Linked DNA regions of Homo sapiens: region 1 is linked to region 2. The links are contacts of gene promoters, found by promoter capture Hi-C in blood cells and fetal thymus (Javierre and others, 2016). All regions are on one chromosome and are shown on one strand. Each heading gives the region's core, a stretch centred on a gene start or on the middle of the fragment in contact. The rest is flanking DNA. Distances are from core to core; before and after follow the strand shown. Region 1 overlaps CLEC16A (C-type lectin domain containing 16A). Region 2 holds the start of RMI2 (RecQ mediated genome instability 2).

Region 1 (7,568 bases), core at 3,759-6,258, 190 kb before region 2:
AACTCTGTTCTTACTGGTAAAATAGCCTCCTGTTTCCTTTTCTTTCCTGTAAATTATGAGATAAGTTTGCATTTCATACCTTTCCAGAAATCTCTGTTGATTGTGGTCTGACCTCAGATTCATGATTTCTGGGAAAGAAAGAATTAGAATCACTGCTGTGAACATTAGAAGTGCGGTGAGTAGTTCGTGTTGTGGATTTGAGATGGAAAACAGGTGACCAGTACCTGTTTGTTGTTCCGGAACTTATTTCCTGGTGCTGCTAGATGGTATGCCGGCAACCACGTCCAACTCATGCCAATGACTTTTAAAAATGTCATCTCAAATGCCACATGTTATGTCTTGGATGTAGTTAGGGCTAGTTGTGGCCTTTTTGTATGGTAGAAACCTCCACCTCCTGGTGGAGGAGGTCTGGAGGCACTAGAACTTGACAATACAGGTACTGTTTATTGAGCAATTACTGCATATCAGACACTGTGCCAAGCAAGGTTGTGTGTACTCTTCTCACTTAATCCTCACAATGATGTATGACATAGGGATTATTTCCCCCATATTATGCCAGGGAAATGGAGGCTCAAGGCTACAATTTCCATTACACAGCCAGTCAGCATCAGGGCTGTGGCTTGAACCCATGTCTGTCTGCCACCAAAGCCCACCATCTTAGCTTATATTATGCGCCTCCGTTTCCCTGTCCATACTCCAGCCTTTAGACTCCCAGGCCAGTGCTCCATCCCCTGTATGGCCAGGAAAGCACAGCCATCTTGTAGGACCAGGAGCAGTTCAAATAATGAGCCAACGGCTGGCACCCTTTCTCCGAGCACAGCGATGCACCAGAATGCTCTCCCTCCTGTGACAGGTGATGTGCGCTTCAGCTCAGGCCCAGAAGAGCCACAAAAGAGAAGCTCCAGCAGTTCTGTGTAGGAGGCAGGATGTACTTCTATCCATAGAAGGGCTCTCATGATTATTTATTAATTGTGAAAGGGAAGAAAAAACTAATAGAGTTTCCCGGAAAGGGATACAAGTTCAATATGATAAACTCCCAAAAAGCAATCAAAGGCCAAAGAGGGCAGAAAAATAAAGGACAGGGAGAAAGAGAGATGGTGAATCAAAGTGGCCAGTATGTTAGCAGAGGCCAGGGGAGGGGCCAGGCTTCACAGCCAGGGAGGTGTGGGGCTGTCGGAGCACAAGTCACCAGTGGTGGTGAGTCAGGCAGGCAGCGGGACTTGACCCCATGGGGTCACTGAGGCCCTGGGGATGAGCTGATAACAGGAATGGATGGAACCGGTCAGCTGTTTTGCTATTACTGCAGACCCGTTGTATTAATTTTTGTGCATTAATACATGAACGTAGAATATTATAAATGAAAACTGAGAAGCTACAGGAAGAAGAAATCACAATCCTATCAACCCAGAAGAAAGCATTGTTAATATTTCTGTTTATTTTCCACTTCTGTCTTCCCTGTTTTGTCTCTTTCTCTCATTTAAAAAAAAAAATACATGAGTTGATTGTTGATTTTTGAAAAAATCAGGCTGGGCACAGTGGCTCATGCCTGTAATCTCAACACTTTGGGAGGCTGAGGCAGGCAGATTGCCTGAGCTCAAGAGTTCAAGACCAGCCTGAGCAACATGGCAAAACCCCATCTCCACTAAAAATATAAATAGCTGGGCATGATGGTGCCCACCGGTAATCCCAGCTACTTGGGAAGCTGAGACATGAGAATGGCTTGAACCTGGGAGGCAGAGGTTGCAGTGAGCCAAGATCACACCAGTTCACTCCAGCCTGGGTGACAAAGTGAGACTGTCTTAAAAAAAAAAAAAAAATTGCAACATTGCAGGTGCGACTTAAGACCCCATCAGTTACCACCCTTCCTCAGTCATCATTTGCCTTATTTTTATTTTTCCAGACCCTTCTCTGTGCAGTTGCATTTCATACATGTGCCAGAGCTGATGAACAGAACAGAGCCACCACCCCTTCTCTGCAATTCTGAAACCCAAACAGCTCTGAAAATCAAAATATTTTTCCTAACTCGTATGATGGCAAAACCAAAACCTGCCTTCAGGTATTTATGGGCGGGTTTATTAGAGTCATTGATGCCAGTAATTGTGAGTTTATGTTTTCGTTTCTGCAAAAATTCAGTGTTTGGTTTTAGCTGCTCACGACCCAGCTGACAGTGTAACGTAATACCTATGTGTGCCCTACATGGCCTTTTACCTCCTAAAGATTCTAAATTCCAAGACATATCTGGCCACAGAGGTTTAGGATAAGGAGTTAAGTATGGATCTGTAATTGTGTTAAGGTTTGGGCTTCCCTTAAATAAAATCATAATTCTGTATACCCTGCTGCACCTTGCTCTTTTCAGACACCACTGTAAATCAGGAATCTGTGTTAGCACTTACAGATTTCACACATTCCTTTTCACGGCTGCATAGTATTCCAAAGCTTGGCTACTTGCGTTTCTTTGGCTGAGTGATTCAGTCATCCTAGTCTTTTTCTATCCCGGGCAGCGTTGCAGTGGGCATCCTTGGGCACACCTCTCTCTGTGTGCACGTGCAGTACAAGAAGCAGAACTGCCAAGTCACAAGGTTTTGTTTTCACAACATTGCCATCATGTCAGAAGCACTTCCCTGTACTGTAAAATGCCTCTTCTAAACTTCATTCTTGATGACTGCATAATAGTCCATTGTCTGAGTGTTAGTTTCCTGAGGTGGCCATAACAAAGTCCCACAAACTGGGTGGCATAAACAGCAGAAATTGATTGTCTCACAGGTCTGGAGGGTAGAAGTGCAAAATCAAGGTATTGGCAGGGCTGGTTTCCTCTGAGGGGTGTGAGGAGGACTCTGGTCCAGGCCTCCCTCCTTGGCTTCTGGTGTTTTGCTGGCAATCTTTGCTACTTTTTGGCTCATAGAAGTATCACCCCAGTCTTGCCTTCATCTTCACGTGATGTTCTACCTGTGTGAAAATCTGCGTCCAAATTTTCATTTTTTAGGAGGCACAGACATATTGGATTAGGACCAAACCTAATGACCTCATTTTAACTAATTGCATCTGTAAAATGACCCCATTTCCAAACGAGGTCACATTCTGAGTCTGAGGTACTAGAGGTTAGGACTTCAACCTAAGAATTTGAAGGGGACACAGTGAAACACAAAACAGTCTGAATTTGCCAGATTTTACTTAATCCGCTTATACTGGCCACTTACGTTGTTTCTACTACCTTATGAAGCACCCTATGACAAACATCCTTATTCAGAAATCTTGGTCTACATTTCCAATTATTCCTCCAGAAACCATTCCTTAGAGTCAGGGGGACTGTCCATTTGTCAGGCTCTGGGTGGCACCTTGCCAAATTGCCTTCCAGAAAGCAGAGTAGGGGGATGCCCACCTGGTCACACCTGGGCCCTTGTCTTCATTCACCTGGGCTCTCAGATGACTCCTGCCCAGTGCTCCAGGCTGAAGTCCTCTGCACATATGTGTGCGCCTCTGCCAGCATGTGCACAGGCATTGTTTCTATCAAGTCACTTTTTTATTTCTCATTCCTGCCAAAAAGAGAGAGAGTCTATGGGTTAATAGCAAAGTAGAAACCGTAGCTCAAAATGTCTGTTTGGGGCATGTACTCTTGCATCTGTATAGATGAATAGAGATTTCAGAAATACTGGGCCCTCTGGGCCTCAGGCATTAAATCAATCAGTGCAATTTCACTCACAGGGCAGCTTGCCAAGGGAGCCCAGGAGAGAGTAGCGACTTCTCTGATTTAGTTCAGTCCGTTAAGCTCATGGCAGCCTGCACCAGCTCACTGTTGCAAAAGGCAATCAAGTAATGAGTACTCAGCCACTTTCGGGGGGCGGGGGCCGGCTGGGGAAGGGGCTCTCTGGAGCCTTTCAAATGGAGCCAACTTTTGATAGCTTTTTAGGGTAGTTCTGAGAGCTGGAGACGGGTGAGGAACCCGGGAAGTGAGAGCTTAATTAACGGAACTACAGAGAATGAGGCAGCAAAGGAATCTCTCAGAGAACCAGGGGGTTTTGTGTGTGTGATGAGCAAAAGGATAGAACTAGGTGCTTGAGTACTGCCGGCTAGGAACCAGCATTGAACAGCAGATGCCTAACTCAGCACAGCAAGGGCCAGCTTAGCACAGAGACCAGAGAGCAAGATGCGCGGAAGGATAAATTTAGCCTGCATTTCAGGGGAAAACATCGATCTCAAATGTAGTGCTGTCTTTTAAAAGAAAGTGGAAGCCTTAGGCCGGTCATCTGGGACAATTTCACTTGAACAGCTAAAAGCCCAGGAAAAACGAGTGCTCATAACCAGCTCATGCTGCTAGCACACCCACAAGATCTTCCCTCTGCAGGCGGGCGGCTGGTGTCTGCATGGGTCTGACAGATGGTCCTCCTGCTACCCTTATCTGTTCCCAGGAAAAGGTGCTGCCTTGTTTTCTGGAGAGATTTGGGGTTTCTATTTCTGATCCCAAATGTTCATCTTCATGAGGAATGACGGGGGGCCCAAGCTCTGTGTTTGCTCAGCTGCTGGTCCAGGACATTGACATCTGGTGGGTTGCACCTGTCAGAGCAGGGCCAGTGCCAATCCCCTCTGTTGTCTAGAAGCTGAGCAAAAGACATCAGTTACTGGTGTCTGTAGATAGGGTTGTTTTGTTTGTTTTTAACCAGGTCCCCTGTAGCATTCACACAGCATCCTGAGCATTGTTTCTACCTGGTCAAAGCTAAGGGCACCACTGTGGTCCCAAATAATAGAGCACCTGTCCTAATGACGTTCCCACAATCTCGCCAGTCAGGTGGTGACGGCATCTTTCCTCCAGCCTCCCTCTGACACTGCTCCCCTGTGTCAAAGGGGAAGAAAGTCCAGTCTGTCAATATTTGGGGCACTAATCATCTGCGTTCGGGCGCCAGGGGTCATTGAAAGGCTGAGACGCTTCCAGGAATTCATGGCTCTAAAACCGTGGGGCTGACTGGAAAGGATCTCCAGCGAGGGTATGAAGAAAGAAACCCAAATCTCCACTCCACCCCGACCCCGCAGCCTCTGAGCATTGTCCATTGTGTCTTGGGTTCTTGGGAAGAAATGAAGTCAATGCACATAGTGATGTGGGCCCAAGTTAATAATAAATGTAGAGGAAGGAGAAAGGATGTTCAATATTTAAACATTTCAGAGCGCTGTGTTTGTTTGCCAGTTACTGCCCTCCGCCTGCTTCCTGGATGGGTTCTGTAAAACGGAGCCTTCCTTCCCCAACTGTGCAATTGGCATCTGACACCAGCGATTTACATAGAAAGGGAAATGGTGCCTTTTCTAGGTAGTCCCCGTGCCAGCAGGACTCCTTCTCGTTTTCTGTTGCCTTTCTTGAAGGAAGAGGATGACAACATAGAAACTAAGGTTTTTATGACCCCTGGAGCACTTGTGAGGAGTTGACAGCTTTAGGGTCATGTCCAGAGTTGTCTTAATTTTCCCAGATTTGCTTCTTTGAAACTGTCTCATATTTTAACATAAATGTTGTGCTTTGGTTCTTACCTCTAACAGATTAAAAAGGCTAAACAATGAAACGTACAGTTGTGTTTAAGAAACGTCACTCTAAGTATACATACTAGATACGTTCCTTAAAAGTTGCCTGTAATGCAGAATTCTGTGAATCAATTCCTCCTTTCTTCTTGACGCACATTATAGAAAAGGAAAAGCATTCCTTCTGGGGGAGGGAAAAACATCTGACCCCAAGACATAATAAAATCATGCTTAAGAATACAGTAAACTTTAAAGTCTCTTAGTTAAAGGAAATCAATACTTTTATGATGAAATATTAATAATACTAAAAAAATAAGTCAAAACTACAAATGCATAATAGCTAGGGTGATTTTTAATGTTGGACACATTAGCTCAGCATTTGTGAGGAGGAACAAAGGGAAAAGAGAGCAACCTAGCCCATTTGAGAAGCCCTTCTGGTTCCTAATAAGTCCCCTTTTTGTGGGTCATCTGTCAAGAAGACACACACCTCCCCATAAGTGCCAACCTTATTTCTAAGCATTTTGTTGAAGCTACCGATTTTGGAAATGAAAGGATGAATGTAGCTGGAGAGAGGAACACACACAGGTGTGTACACACGCACACTCCTGCACACACATGCGCAGACAGGGCAAAGAGAAATGGAGAATTGGGGAAAGCCATTTATTTGTTTGAATACACTGCTGGCTGTTCCCTCCGTCCCCATCCTCCATGAATTATTCTGGTAGGGATCTTTAAGAGGGATGGACTTAGAGTAGATTGAACCATATGAAATGGCTGTTTCTGTAGGTCAAGTTAGTTGAATATTGGCAGTTGCATATGGTTCAAGCTCATCCATTCAACTCTCTATCAAAGAAATGCAAATAGAATAGTCATGTGTCTTGAATGCAGTGTAACATGAGGTTTTTAAGAATCTAGATGAAAATAACTTCATTTTTCTCGTAAACGATTTTCATATAAATCCTTTAAACCTAGATATTTAAAGTTCCTTTAGAAAGGCTCTCTCATGTCTCACTTTGTTAACTCCTAAAATCTTCAGTCATAACAGCTAATGTGAGGAAGACTTTTGTTTTGTGTTGCGTTCTTTTCTCCAAAGAGCTGGGCCATTTCTTTTGCTACATACCCCTTTGTCTAAAGACACTTACGAAAATGAAAGTCCCAGGACAGGCGTGGGGGCTCACATCTGTAATCCCAGCACTTTGGGAGGCTGAGGTGGGCGGATCACCTGAGGTCAGGAGTTCGAGACCAGCCTGACCAACATGGTGAAACCCCATTTCTACTAAAAATACAAAAAAATTAGACAGGTGTGGTGGCAGTTGCCTATAATCCCAGCTACTTGGGAGGCTGAGGTAAGAGAATCACTTGAACCTGGGAGTCGGAGGTTGTAGTGAGCTGAGATCGTGCCATTGCACTCCAGTCTGGGCAACAGAGCGGGACTCCATCTCAAAAATAAATAAATAAATAAAACCCACCACTACAAAAAACAGAAAAATTACCCAGGTGTGGTGGTGTGCACCTGTAGTCCCAGCTACACGGGAGGCTGAGGTGGGAGGATCAGCTGAGCCTGGCGAGGTCAAGAGGCTGCAGTGAGCCGGGATCATGCCACTGCACTCCAGGCTTGGTGACAGAGTGAGACCCTGTCTCCAAAAAAAGAGAAGAAAATCCCAGTTATTGCCTCATTGGGCCCAAGTTCCAGGCACCGTAAATTCCAGCCGAGGAATCAAAACAGCGAGTGCTACCTGAACATTTAGATTGCGTTAATGCTTTCATCCTCACGAACCCTGTAAGGTGTGGTGGTGTCACTCTGCTTTAGAGTGACAACAGTGCTTTAGAGGACACAGGCTCGTGGGGTGAACAGGTCCCCTGCTGTCACATGCCCAGAGCCACGGCACTCTCCTCACCACCGTATCCTGTAGCCAGAGTAAAAGTGACAAGCCTAAAGCCAAGTTGCTGCTCTTCAGGTTTCTCCCCTGCAGATAGCAGAAGGCTCGTGTCCAGCCGTCCGGTTAGCCATGTCCCACAGGTCTGCCAGGGCAGACGTCAACAGAGCCCTGTCCACTTAACAACCTCAG
Region 2 (7,794 bases), core at 3,592-6,091:
AGTGCTGGGATTACAGGCGTGAGCCACCACGCCCCACCCAGAACAACCCCTTTTCTTAGTGTAGTAGGGTTGTTTCTGGAAACCAGAAGCATTTTTGGCCTGATTGGCCTGGGAACTGGTGAACGAGCAGATTGAGGATAAAGCCAAGGCCTACAATTCCTCTCACCTTACCTTTGTCCTCACTGGTGCAGGTGGCAGGAAACCGCCTTCCAAGGATCTTTGATCTCACTGGGAAGCTGGAGCTCGGGGAGGCTGGCACAGGGGGTTGCTTCAGGCCTGAGTGTGAGGGTGATGGATTGTGGTGTGGGGGAGGGGGGATAATCCTCCCTAGAGGGGAGGCTTACCCAACATGTGTCAACAGACCCCACTTGTCTGCTCATGACTGTAATTTAAAATGCTGATTTTGCAACTCTTGGAGCTGGTGGAACACTACAGCCCCTTGGCTATTTTGCAGGAGATTTAAGGACCTGCACGTTAGTGAACATGCAGGCTGCCTTGGTGCCTGAAGCAGAGGTCACGTTCTAGAGAGAGTTTGCAGATTGGAAGCCCACGGGCCAGAGTCAGTCCATGGATGACTTTCTGGGGCACATGGTTTGTTTTTGTTCCTTTGTTTCAGAATTGAATTGTTTGCCAGCATTTTTTTTTTAAACATGGAAATTATACATGAAAATGTCTTGAGCTGGGCGCGGTGGCTCACGCCCGTAATCCCAGCACTTTGGGAGGCCAAGGCAGGTGGATCATCTGAGGTAGGGAGTTCGAGACTAGCCTGGCCAACATGGTGAAACCCCATCTCTACTAAAAATACACAAAATTGGCCGGGCGTGGTGGCGGGCACCTGTAATCCCAGCTACTTGTAAGGCTGAGGCAGGAGAATCACTTAAACCTGGGAGGTGGAAGTTGTGGTGAGTTGAGATCGTGCCATTGCACTACAGCCTGGGCAACAGAGTTAGACTCCATCTAAAACAAAACAAAAACAAACGAAAAAAAGAAAATGTCTTGAAAAATCAGATCTAGCAACAATGGGCCCACAGTCCTGCACGACAACCACCGGCTGAGTGTGATGGACCCCTGTTGCCGGGACATCAGAAGGCCAGTTTGCCCCTGCTACACCAGGGTTACCTGTCTGTCTGCTGCTGACAACTTAGTTTGAGAACCCAGGCTTTACTGGTAAGATAGACACAGACACAACTATTTATGGCTCAAAACAGAGGGCAGTGAGTATTGTAGCTTAGGACAGTGGTTCTCCATAGAGGTGATTTAGTACCCTAGGGGACAGTGGCAATGTCTGAAGACATATTTTGGTTGTTGCAACTTGAGGAGGGTGCCATGGCATCTCGTGGGTGGAAAGCAGGGGTACTGCTCCATATCCTGCAGTGCACACGACAGCCCCCACGACAAAGATTATCCAGCCCCAGTGTCAGTAGGGCTGAGGTTGGGAAACTGTGGATTAGGGGCACCACCAAACTGGTCTGGAAGGAAGAGGTTAATTCCAGTGGTGGGGCTCAACAAAGGCTCTGTGAAGAGAAGAGGTCTTGCTGCTGAGCAGGCACTTGATGACTAAGCCAGGTTTCAACTGAGAGCGACTGAGGGGGAGGCATGTCAGGCAGAGAACAAACAACACAAGCAAAGGTCTAGAGGCACCTTTGATGGGTGGAGGTGGGTGAGAGTGTGAACAGTGAGATGGAGCCTGTAGTTCAAGATACATGAAGTTTGGGGTCAGGTGGATTTGGGTTTGAGTTCTGACTCTGCCACTCACTAGCCATGTGGCTTCAGGCTTGTCATTGGCTTGAACCTCAGTTTCATCATCTGTAAAATGGGGATAAGACATGAGGTTATGTAGAGCCAGACTCATCTATCCCCAGTCCTCCATTTCTACTCTGTGTCCCAGCCATCCTTAACTACTGGCAGTTTGCTACATGCTTCTTGCTTTGTCTCCCCTGTCTGGCCCCTCCATGTGCAGTTCCCTCTGCCTGGAATGCTCACATGCCAGATGTGTGGATTACACCATCAAGGTGTTATAAACCCGGTGCTGACATGCTAAGACTTGTGTTTTGAAAAGATCACTCTGCCAGCAACATGGTGTTGGGCTTGTGGGAGCAGGTGCAGGGAATCTGGAGGCCAAGGGAATGATGGGGGATTCCCAGGCTCATACAAGAAGCCTGGGGGCTTCTCCCTTCACGCTAACTCCCTTCTCCGTCACTTCTCTGTCCTTAAGGTACCTCGGGGGAAGGTCAGTGAGGACCCACCAGGCATGAACGGGTTGGATTCTCTCTTGGTTAATGTTCCTGCTCCTTTCTCAGCCTAGGAGCCTGGTTACTTCATAGGTCAGGGTTGAGGTGTTGTATTAGTCTGTTCTCACACTGCTATAAAGAACTGTCCAAGACTGGGTAATTTATAAAGGAAAGAGGTTTAATTAACTCCAGTTCCGCAGGGCTGGGAGGCCTCAGGAAACTTACAATCATGGCAGAAAGGGAAGCAAACGTCCTTCTTTATGTGGCAGCAGGAAGAAGTAGTGCCGAGCAAAGGGGGAAAAGCACCTTATAAAACCATCAGATCTTGTGAGAACTCACTCACTATCACGAGAACAGCATGGGAGTATCCGCCCCCATGATTCAATTACCTACCACGGGGTCCTTCCCACGATATGTGGGGATTATGGGAAGTACAATTCAACATGAGATTTGGGTGGGGACACAGCCAAACCATATTAGGTGTAGAGGCCAAAACCTCATAGAGGCTACTGAGAGTCTATGGGCCAGCCCTCTAGCTTCCTTAAGCCTCAGTTTCCTCACCTGTGTGGAACAGTCTTTTCAGGGTCTGTGGGGGTACATGGGATACTTCCTACAAAGTTCTTACAATAGGACCTGGCTCAATTTTATAAAAATGAAGCTCTTGGCCGGGTGCGGTGGCTGACGCCTGTAATCCCAGCACTTTGGGAGGCTGAGCGGGCAGATCACGAGGTCAGGAGTTTGAGACTAGCCTGGCCAGTATGACGAAACCCCGTCTCTACTAAAAAATACAAAAATTAGCCAGGCGGGTGGCGTGTACCTGTAGTCCCAGCTACTCAGGAGGCTGAGGCAGGAGAATCACTTGAACCTGGGAGGCGGAGGTTGCAGTGAGCTGAGATGGCACAACTGCACTCCTGCCTGGGTGACACAGCGAGACTCCGTCTCAAAAAAAAAAAAAAAAAAAAATCAAGCTCTTGCTGAATACTCTCTGAATGCCTGGTACTGCAGGAGGCCCTGGGAACTCAAAGTTTCTCTTAAGAACTGACCTTGACTTTAAGGATTGCCTGATTTAGGATCTGTGGACTTTGCTGACTGGGGACATCCAATTTTTAGGGAGAGATTCCTGGGAATTTTATTTGAAGGATGCACAAAAAGATTTAGCTTTTACGGGTGGATCACGAGGTCAGGAGATCGAGACCATCCTGGCTAACACGGTGAAACCTCGTCTCTACTAAAACAAAGTACAAAAAATTAGCTGGGCGTGGTGGCAGGCACCTGTAGTCTCAGCTACTCGGGAGGCTGAGGCAGGAGAATGGCGGGAACCTGGGAGGCGGAGCTTGTAGTGAGCCCAGATGGCGCCACTGCACTCCAGCCTGGGTGACAGAGTGAGACTCCGTCTCAAAAAAATAAATAAATAAATAAATAAAAAAGATTTATCTTTTAAGTAGGTCCACAGTGGATATATTTATAAAGTGAAAAATTGGAAATAGCCTTAATGTCCAACTGTAGGATATTGGTTTAATATGTGATAAGACAAATCGAGTATTATGCAGTCATTCAAGAGGAAGCAGATGGATATTTGCTGATACAGAAAGATGTTCATTATTAAGTGAAAACAATATACAAAACACTATTTGTATATCAGTAATAGGCCAGGCATGGTGGCTCACGCCTGTAATCCCAGCACTTTGGGAGGCCAAGGAGGCAGGATTGCGTGATCCCAGGAGTTCCAGACCACCTTGGGCAACATGGTAAGACCCTGTCTCTACAAAAAATACAAAAATTAGCTGGACGTGGTGGTGCACGCCTGTAGTCCGAGATACTTGGGAGGCTGAGGTAGGAGAATCACCTATGCCCGGGAGGTGAACGTTGTAGTGAGCCGTCACTGTGCCACTGCACTCCATCCTGGGCAACAGAGTGAGACCCTGTCTCAAAAAAAATACACACACATATTTTAAAGCCTAAAGGCTAATATACCCCAAAATTAACAGTGGGTATCTATAAGCGGCTTTTACAATTATTTTCTTGTTCTACATTTTTCCCCTATTTTTTTTACAATAAATGTGCATTTCTTGTCTGAAAAATAGCAATATATTTTATTAACCTTAAAATTATTTGATGCTATTAAAATATAACTGAAAATAATAATAAAAGAAAAGGCAAGTTTGCCAGCTCTCCCCGTCTCCCTCCCCAGCCTTATCTCCTGACTGGATTCTTGCTCACTCCCAATAAACACGGACTCTTAATTCGTTTCAGTATTTACTAACCTCAAAACAAGGCAATGTAAAGATGAATAATCATACTCTGTAGGTGATCTGCATCCACGCCAAATTTTGAGATGCGTTGAAAGAGGAAGTTCTTTACCTCTCTGCCTTCAATTATTTATTCTCGTTTAACCCATTTCCTCCGTTCATTCCTAACTTGAGGGCGTTTATTTACTTTTATCTACGCATGCGCACTCCTGGCTGCTAGAGAGGGCCTCTTCGCCCGGCGGTCCCGCCTTCTGACGTCGACCATTGGCCGGCTCTGCCAGCGCGCTCCTGATTGGTGGCTGAGGGCCGGGCCCCGCTGCTTCTCAAAGTTGGCGGGAAAGCGGAGGCGGGGCGGAAGGGTGCGGCGAGGCGGAATGGCGGCGGCTGCGGACTCGTTCTCAGGCGGCCCCGCGGGGGTGCGGCTTCCGAGGTCGCCGCCACTCAAGGTGCTGGCGGAGCAGCTGCGGCGCGACGCGGAGGGCGGCCCGGGCGCGTGGCGGCTGTCACGGGCGGCGGCGGGCCGCGGGCCGCTGGACCTGGCGGCCGTGTGGATGCAGGGCAGGGTAGTGATGGCGGACCGCGGCGAGGCTCGGCTGAGGGACCCGAGCGGGGACTTCTCGGTCCGCGGCCTGGAGCGGGTGCCGCGCGGGCGGCCCTGTCTAGTCCCAGGTAATGCCCGGGCCTTACCGGGCGCCCTCTTCCCTGCTGCCCGCCGAGAAGTTGCCGAGGCCAGATTCGATCTTGTTGTTGACACTCGAACGGGGGCGGGGCGGGTCTGGCCCTCCTCCGGGCCTCTGCCCCTGCGGGTCCCCGCTTGGGTACCCTTGCTCCGGTCCCTCCTTGGTGAAGTTGATCTGATGATAAGCATCACCTGCCGTCCCTTTTACAAATACAGATTCCTGGGACTCTCCCACCCCTAGTGGGAATCTTCTGGGGAGGGACTCCGGCACCTTCGTTTGTCACAAGCCCCCTCTCCCAGTTGATATCCTTGTTTTGGGAAATACTGTCCTGGGAAACTTCTGCTCATCCTTAACGTCTCAGCTCAAATGTGCCTTTCTCAGGGAAGTCCTCCCTAGCCCCTAGGAACGGGAGACCCTCCTGTACTTCTCCTTAATTGAACTGTCTTGGGCTGTAGCTCACTCATGTTTGCCTCCTCTCTTTTTTTTTTTTTTTTTTTTTTGAGACGGAGTCTCACTCTGTCGCCCAGGATGGGGTGCAGTGGCGCGACCTCAGCTTACTGCAGCCTCCACCTCCCGAATTCAAGCGATTCTCATGCTTCAGCCTCCCGAGTAGCTGGGATTACAGGCATGTGCCACCACACCCGGCTAATTTTTGTATTTTTTAGCAGAGACTGGGTTTTGCCATGTTGGCCAGGCTGGTCTCGAACTCCTGGCCTCAAGTGATCTGCTCATCTCGGCCTCCCAAAGTGCTGGGATTACAGACATGAGCCGCTGCGCCCTGCCTGCTTCCTCTCTTAAACCACTGATGCTCAAACTTGAGCCAGCATCAGTCTCTCCTGGAGGGCTTGGTAAAGCTGGGATGGCTGGGGCTCCACCCTCAGGGTTTGTGAGTCAGGAGGTCCAGGTGGGGCTGGAAATTTGCATTTCTAACCAGCTCCCAGGTGATGCTGATGCTGCTGGTCTGGGGACCATACTTTCGACTTTTTAAATGTTTTATTTATTTGAGATAGGGGACTCACCGTGTTGCCCAGGCTGGCCCTGAGCTCAAGCAATCCTCCTGCGTCAGCCTCCTTGGGTAGCTGGGACTACAGGCCTGTACCACCACGCCTGGTTTGGGGGCCATACTTTGAGAACCACTGGGCCAGCCCAAGCTACTGGAGGGCCAGAGCTGTGTGGTCCTGACAACTGTATCCTCAGCATCTGGCCCAGTTCCTGACACATAAGTGCTCCAAGAACCAATAGTCTTGAGTGATAGGCAATGGGCATCCATCTCACTTGTTCCCTGGGATGTCAGTTGAGCACGTGTTGTACATCAGCCCCTCATGTGCAGTGTTGGGCTGCAGCCGAGACCTAGATAGAGTCTGCTGGGAGACAGGCAGTGAGCAAGTGTCGCAGAGGATCGCTGATCTTTGGGGAGCCATGAGGATGTGCAAGGTGCTGAGTGGCCCGGGGAGGCTTCTAGAGGATGTGAGGTCTAAGCTGAGGAGCTCTGAGGCTCCATGGGCCTTCCCTCACCTCAGCTCCCTCTCCTGGGAAATCAGGCCAAGATCACTTCATTCCTAAGGGCCCTTCCTGCTCAGTCTTGGAGTCTAACTAGAGGCAGATAGGGCTGTGGTCTGGCCTGAGCTGCTGTGGACTCGGAAAGGCTTAGGTCGAATTTCTGGTTCCACCCCTTCCCAACTGAGCTGCCTGGAGCACTCTTGTTAACTTTTCTGGACTTGTACTATTTTGTAAAAAGGAGCTAATCATTCCTGCGTGTTGTGTGGATTCAATAAGTAAACAACTGCCTTAGTACTGCACCTGGCTCACAGTGAGGATGCAAAATATCAGGACTCGTTTACTGCCACATGCTCCTGTTCCGTCTTCCCACTGCCTTACCCATCAGCCTTCCCTCTGTCTGCCTGCCCTCAGCCGCAGCGTTGGTCTAGGACAGGGTCAGCAAACTACAGGCCTCCTCTTTTCATGTGTCCTGCGAACTAAAAATGCTTTTAAAATTTTTATGTATTACTATTATTATTTTTGAGACAGAATCTCGCTCTGTCTCTCAGGCTGGAGTACAGTGACGCAGTCATGGCTTGCTGCAACCTCCACCTCCTGGGTTCAAGCGATTCTCATGCCTCAGCCTCCCGAGTAGCTGGGATTACAGGTGTGCACCACCACACCCGGCTAATTTTTGTAGTTCTAGTAGAGATGGGGTTTCAACATGTTGGCTAGACTGGTTGGTCTGGAGCTCCTGGCCACCTTGGCCTCCCAAAGTGCTGGGACTGCAGGTGTGAGTCATTGCACCTGGCAGGATTTCACATTTTTAAATGGTTGAAAAGAAAATCGTGATATGTGAAAAGTATATGAAATTCAAGCATCAGTGTTCATAAGTTAAGTTTTATTGGAATACATTGGTAATTTACAGAATGTCTCGGGCCGCTGTCCCACCCCAGCTAGAATTTTATCTGGGACAGAGACCCTATGGCGGGAAAAGCCCAAAATATTTGTCTCGCCCTTTACAGAAAAAGTTTGCCAACCCTTGGCCTTAGCCTTGGCCCAGCAAGTAACCCATGCTGCTTGGTGTGTTGGTTTGCAGGCAAAGCACCTTGCAGGCAGGCTGGGGCAGTCTCCTATCTGGTCTCAGCCCTGGCA

Evidence for each region. The method cuts DNA at HindIII sites, captures the fragments that hold promoters and counts their contacts. A CHiCAGO score of 5 or more calls a contact.
Region 1: a fragment that was not itself captured here is called in contact with the fragment with the promoter of RMI2 in region 2 in 1 of 17 cell types (activated CD4 T cells); the score reaches 6.0 in activated CD4 T cells.

The regions. Positions count from the first base shown.
Region 1 is chr16:11,147,986-11,155,553 of GRCh38, forward strand. The region is part of intron 22 of CLEC16A (C-type lectin domain containing 16A); the gene reads left to right. Among named protein-coding and RNA genes, the nearest start is that of SOCS1, 100 kb to the right of the region's middle. The HindIII fragment of the contact is 5,148 bases long and covers 2,435-7,568 here.
Region 2 is chr16:11,340,618-11,348,411 of GRCh38, forward strand. RMI2 (RecQ mediated genome instability 2) reads left to right here and starts at 4,842. Exons shown (of 2, transcript NM_152308.3): 1 at 4,842-5,149. The coding sequence starts at 4,855. All of the region lies in intron 1 of LOC105371082 (a long non-coding RNA gene), which reads left to right. LOC105371083 (a long non-coding RNA gene) reads right to left here and starts at 4,595. Exons shown (of 2, transcript NR_135174.1): 1 at 4,496-4,595; 2 at 1,192-1,806. RefSeq lists silencers at 4,911-5,070, 5,091-5,170. The HindIII fragment of the contact is 15,776 bases long and covers 1-7,794 here.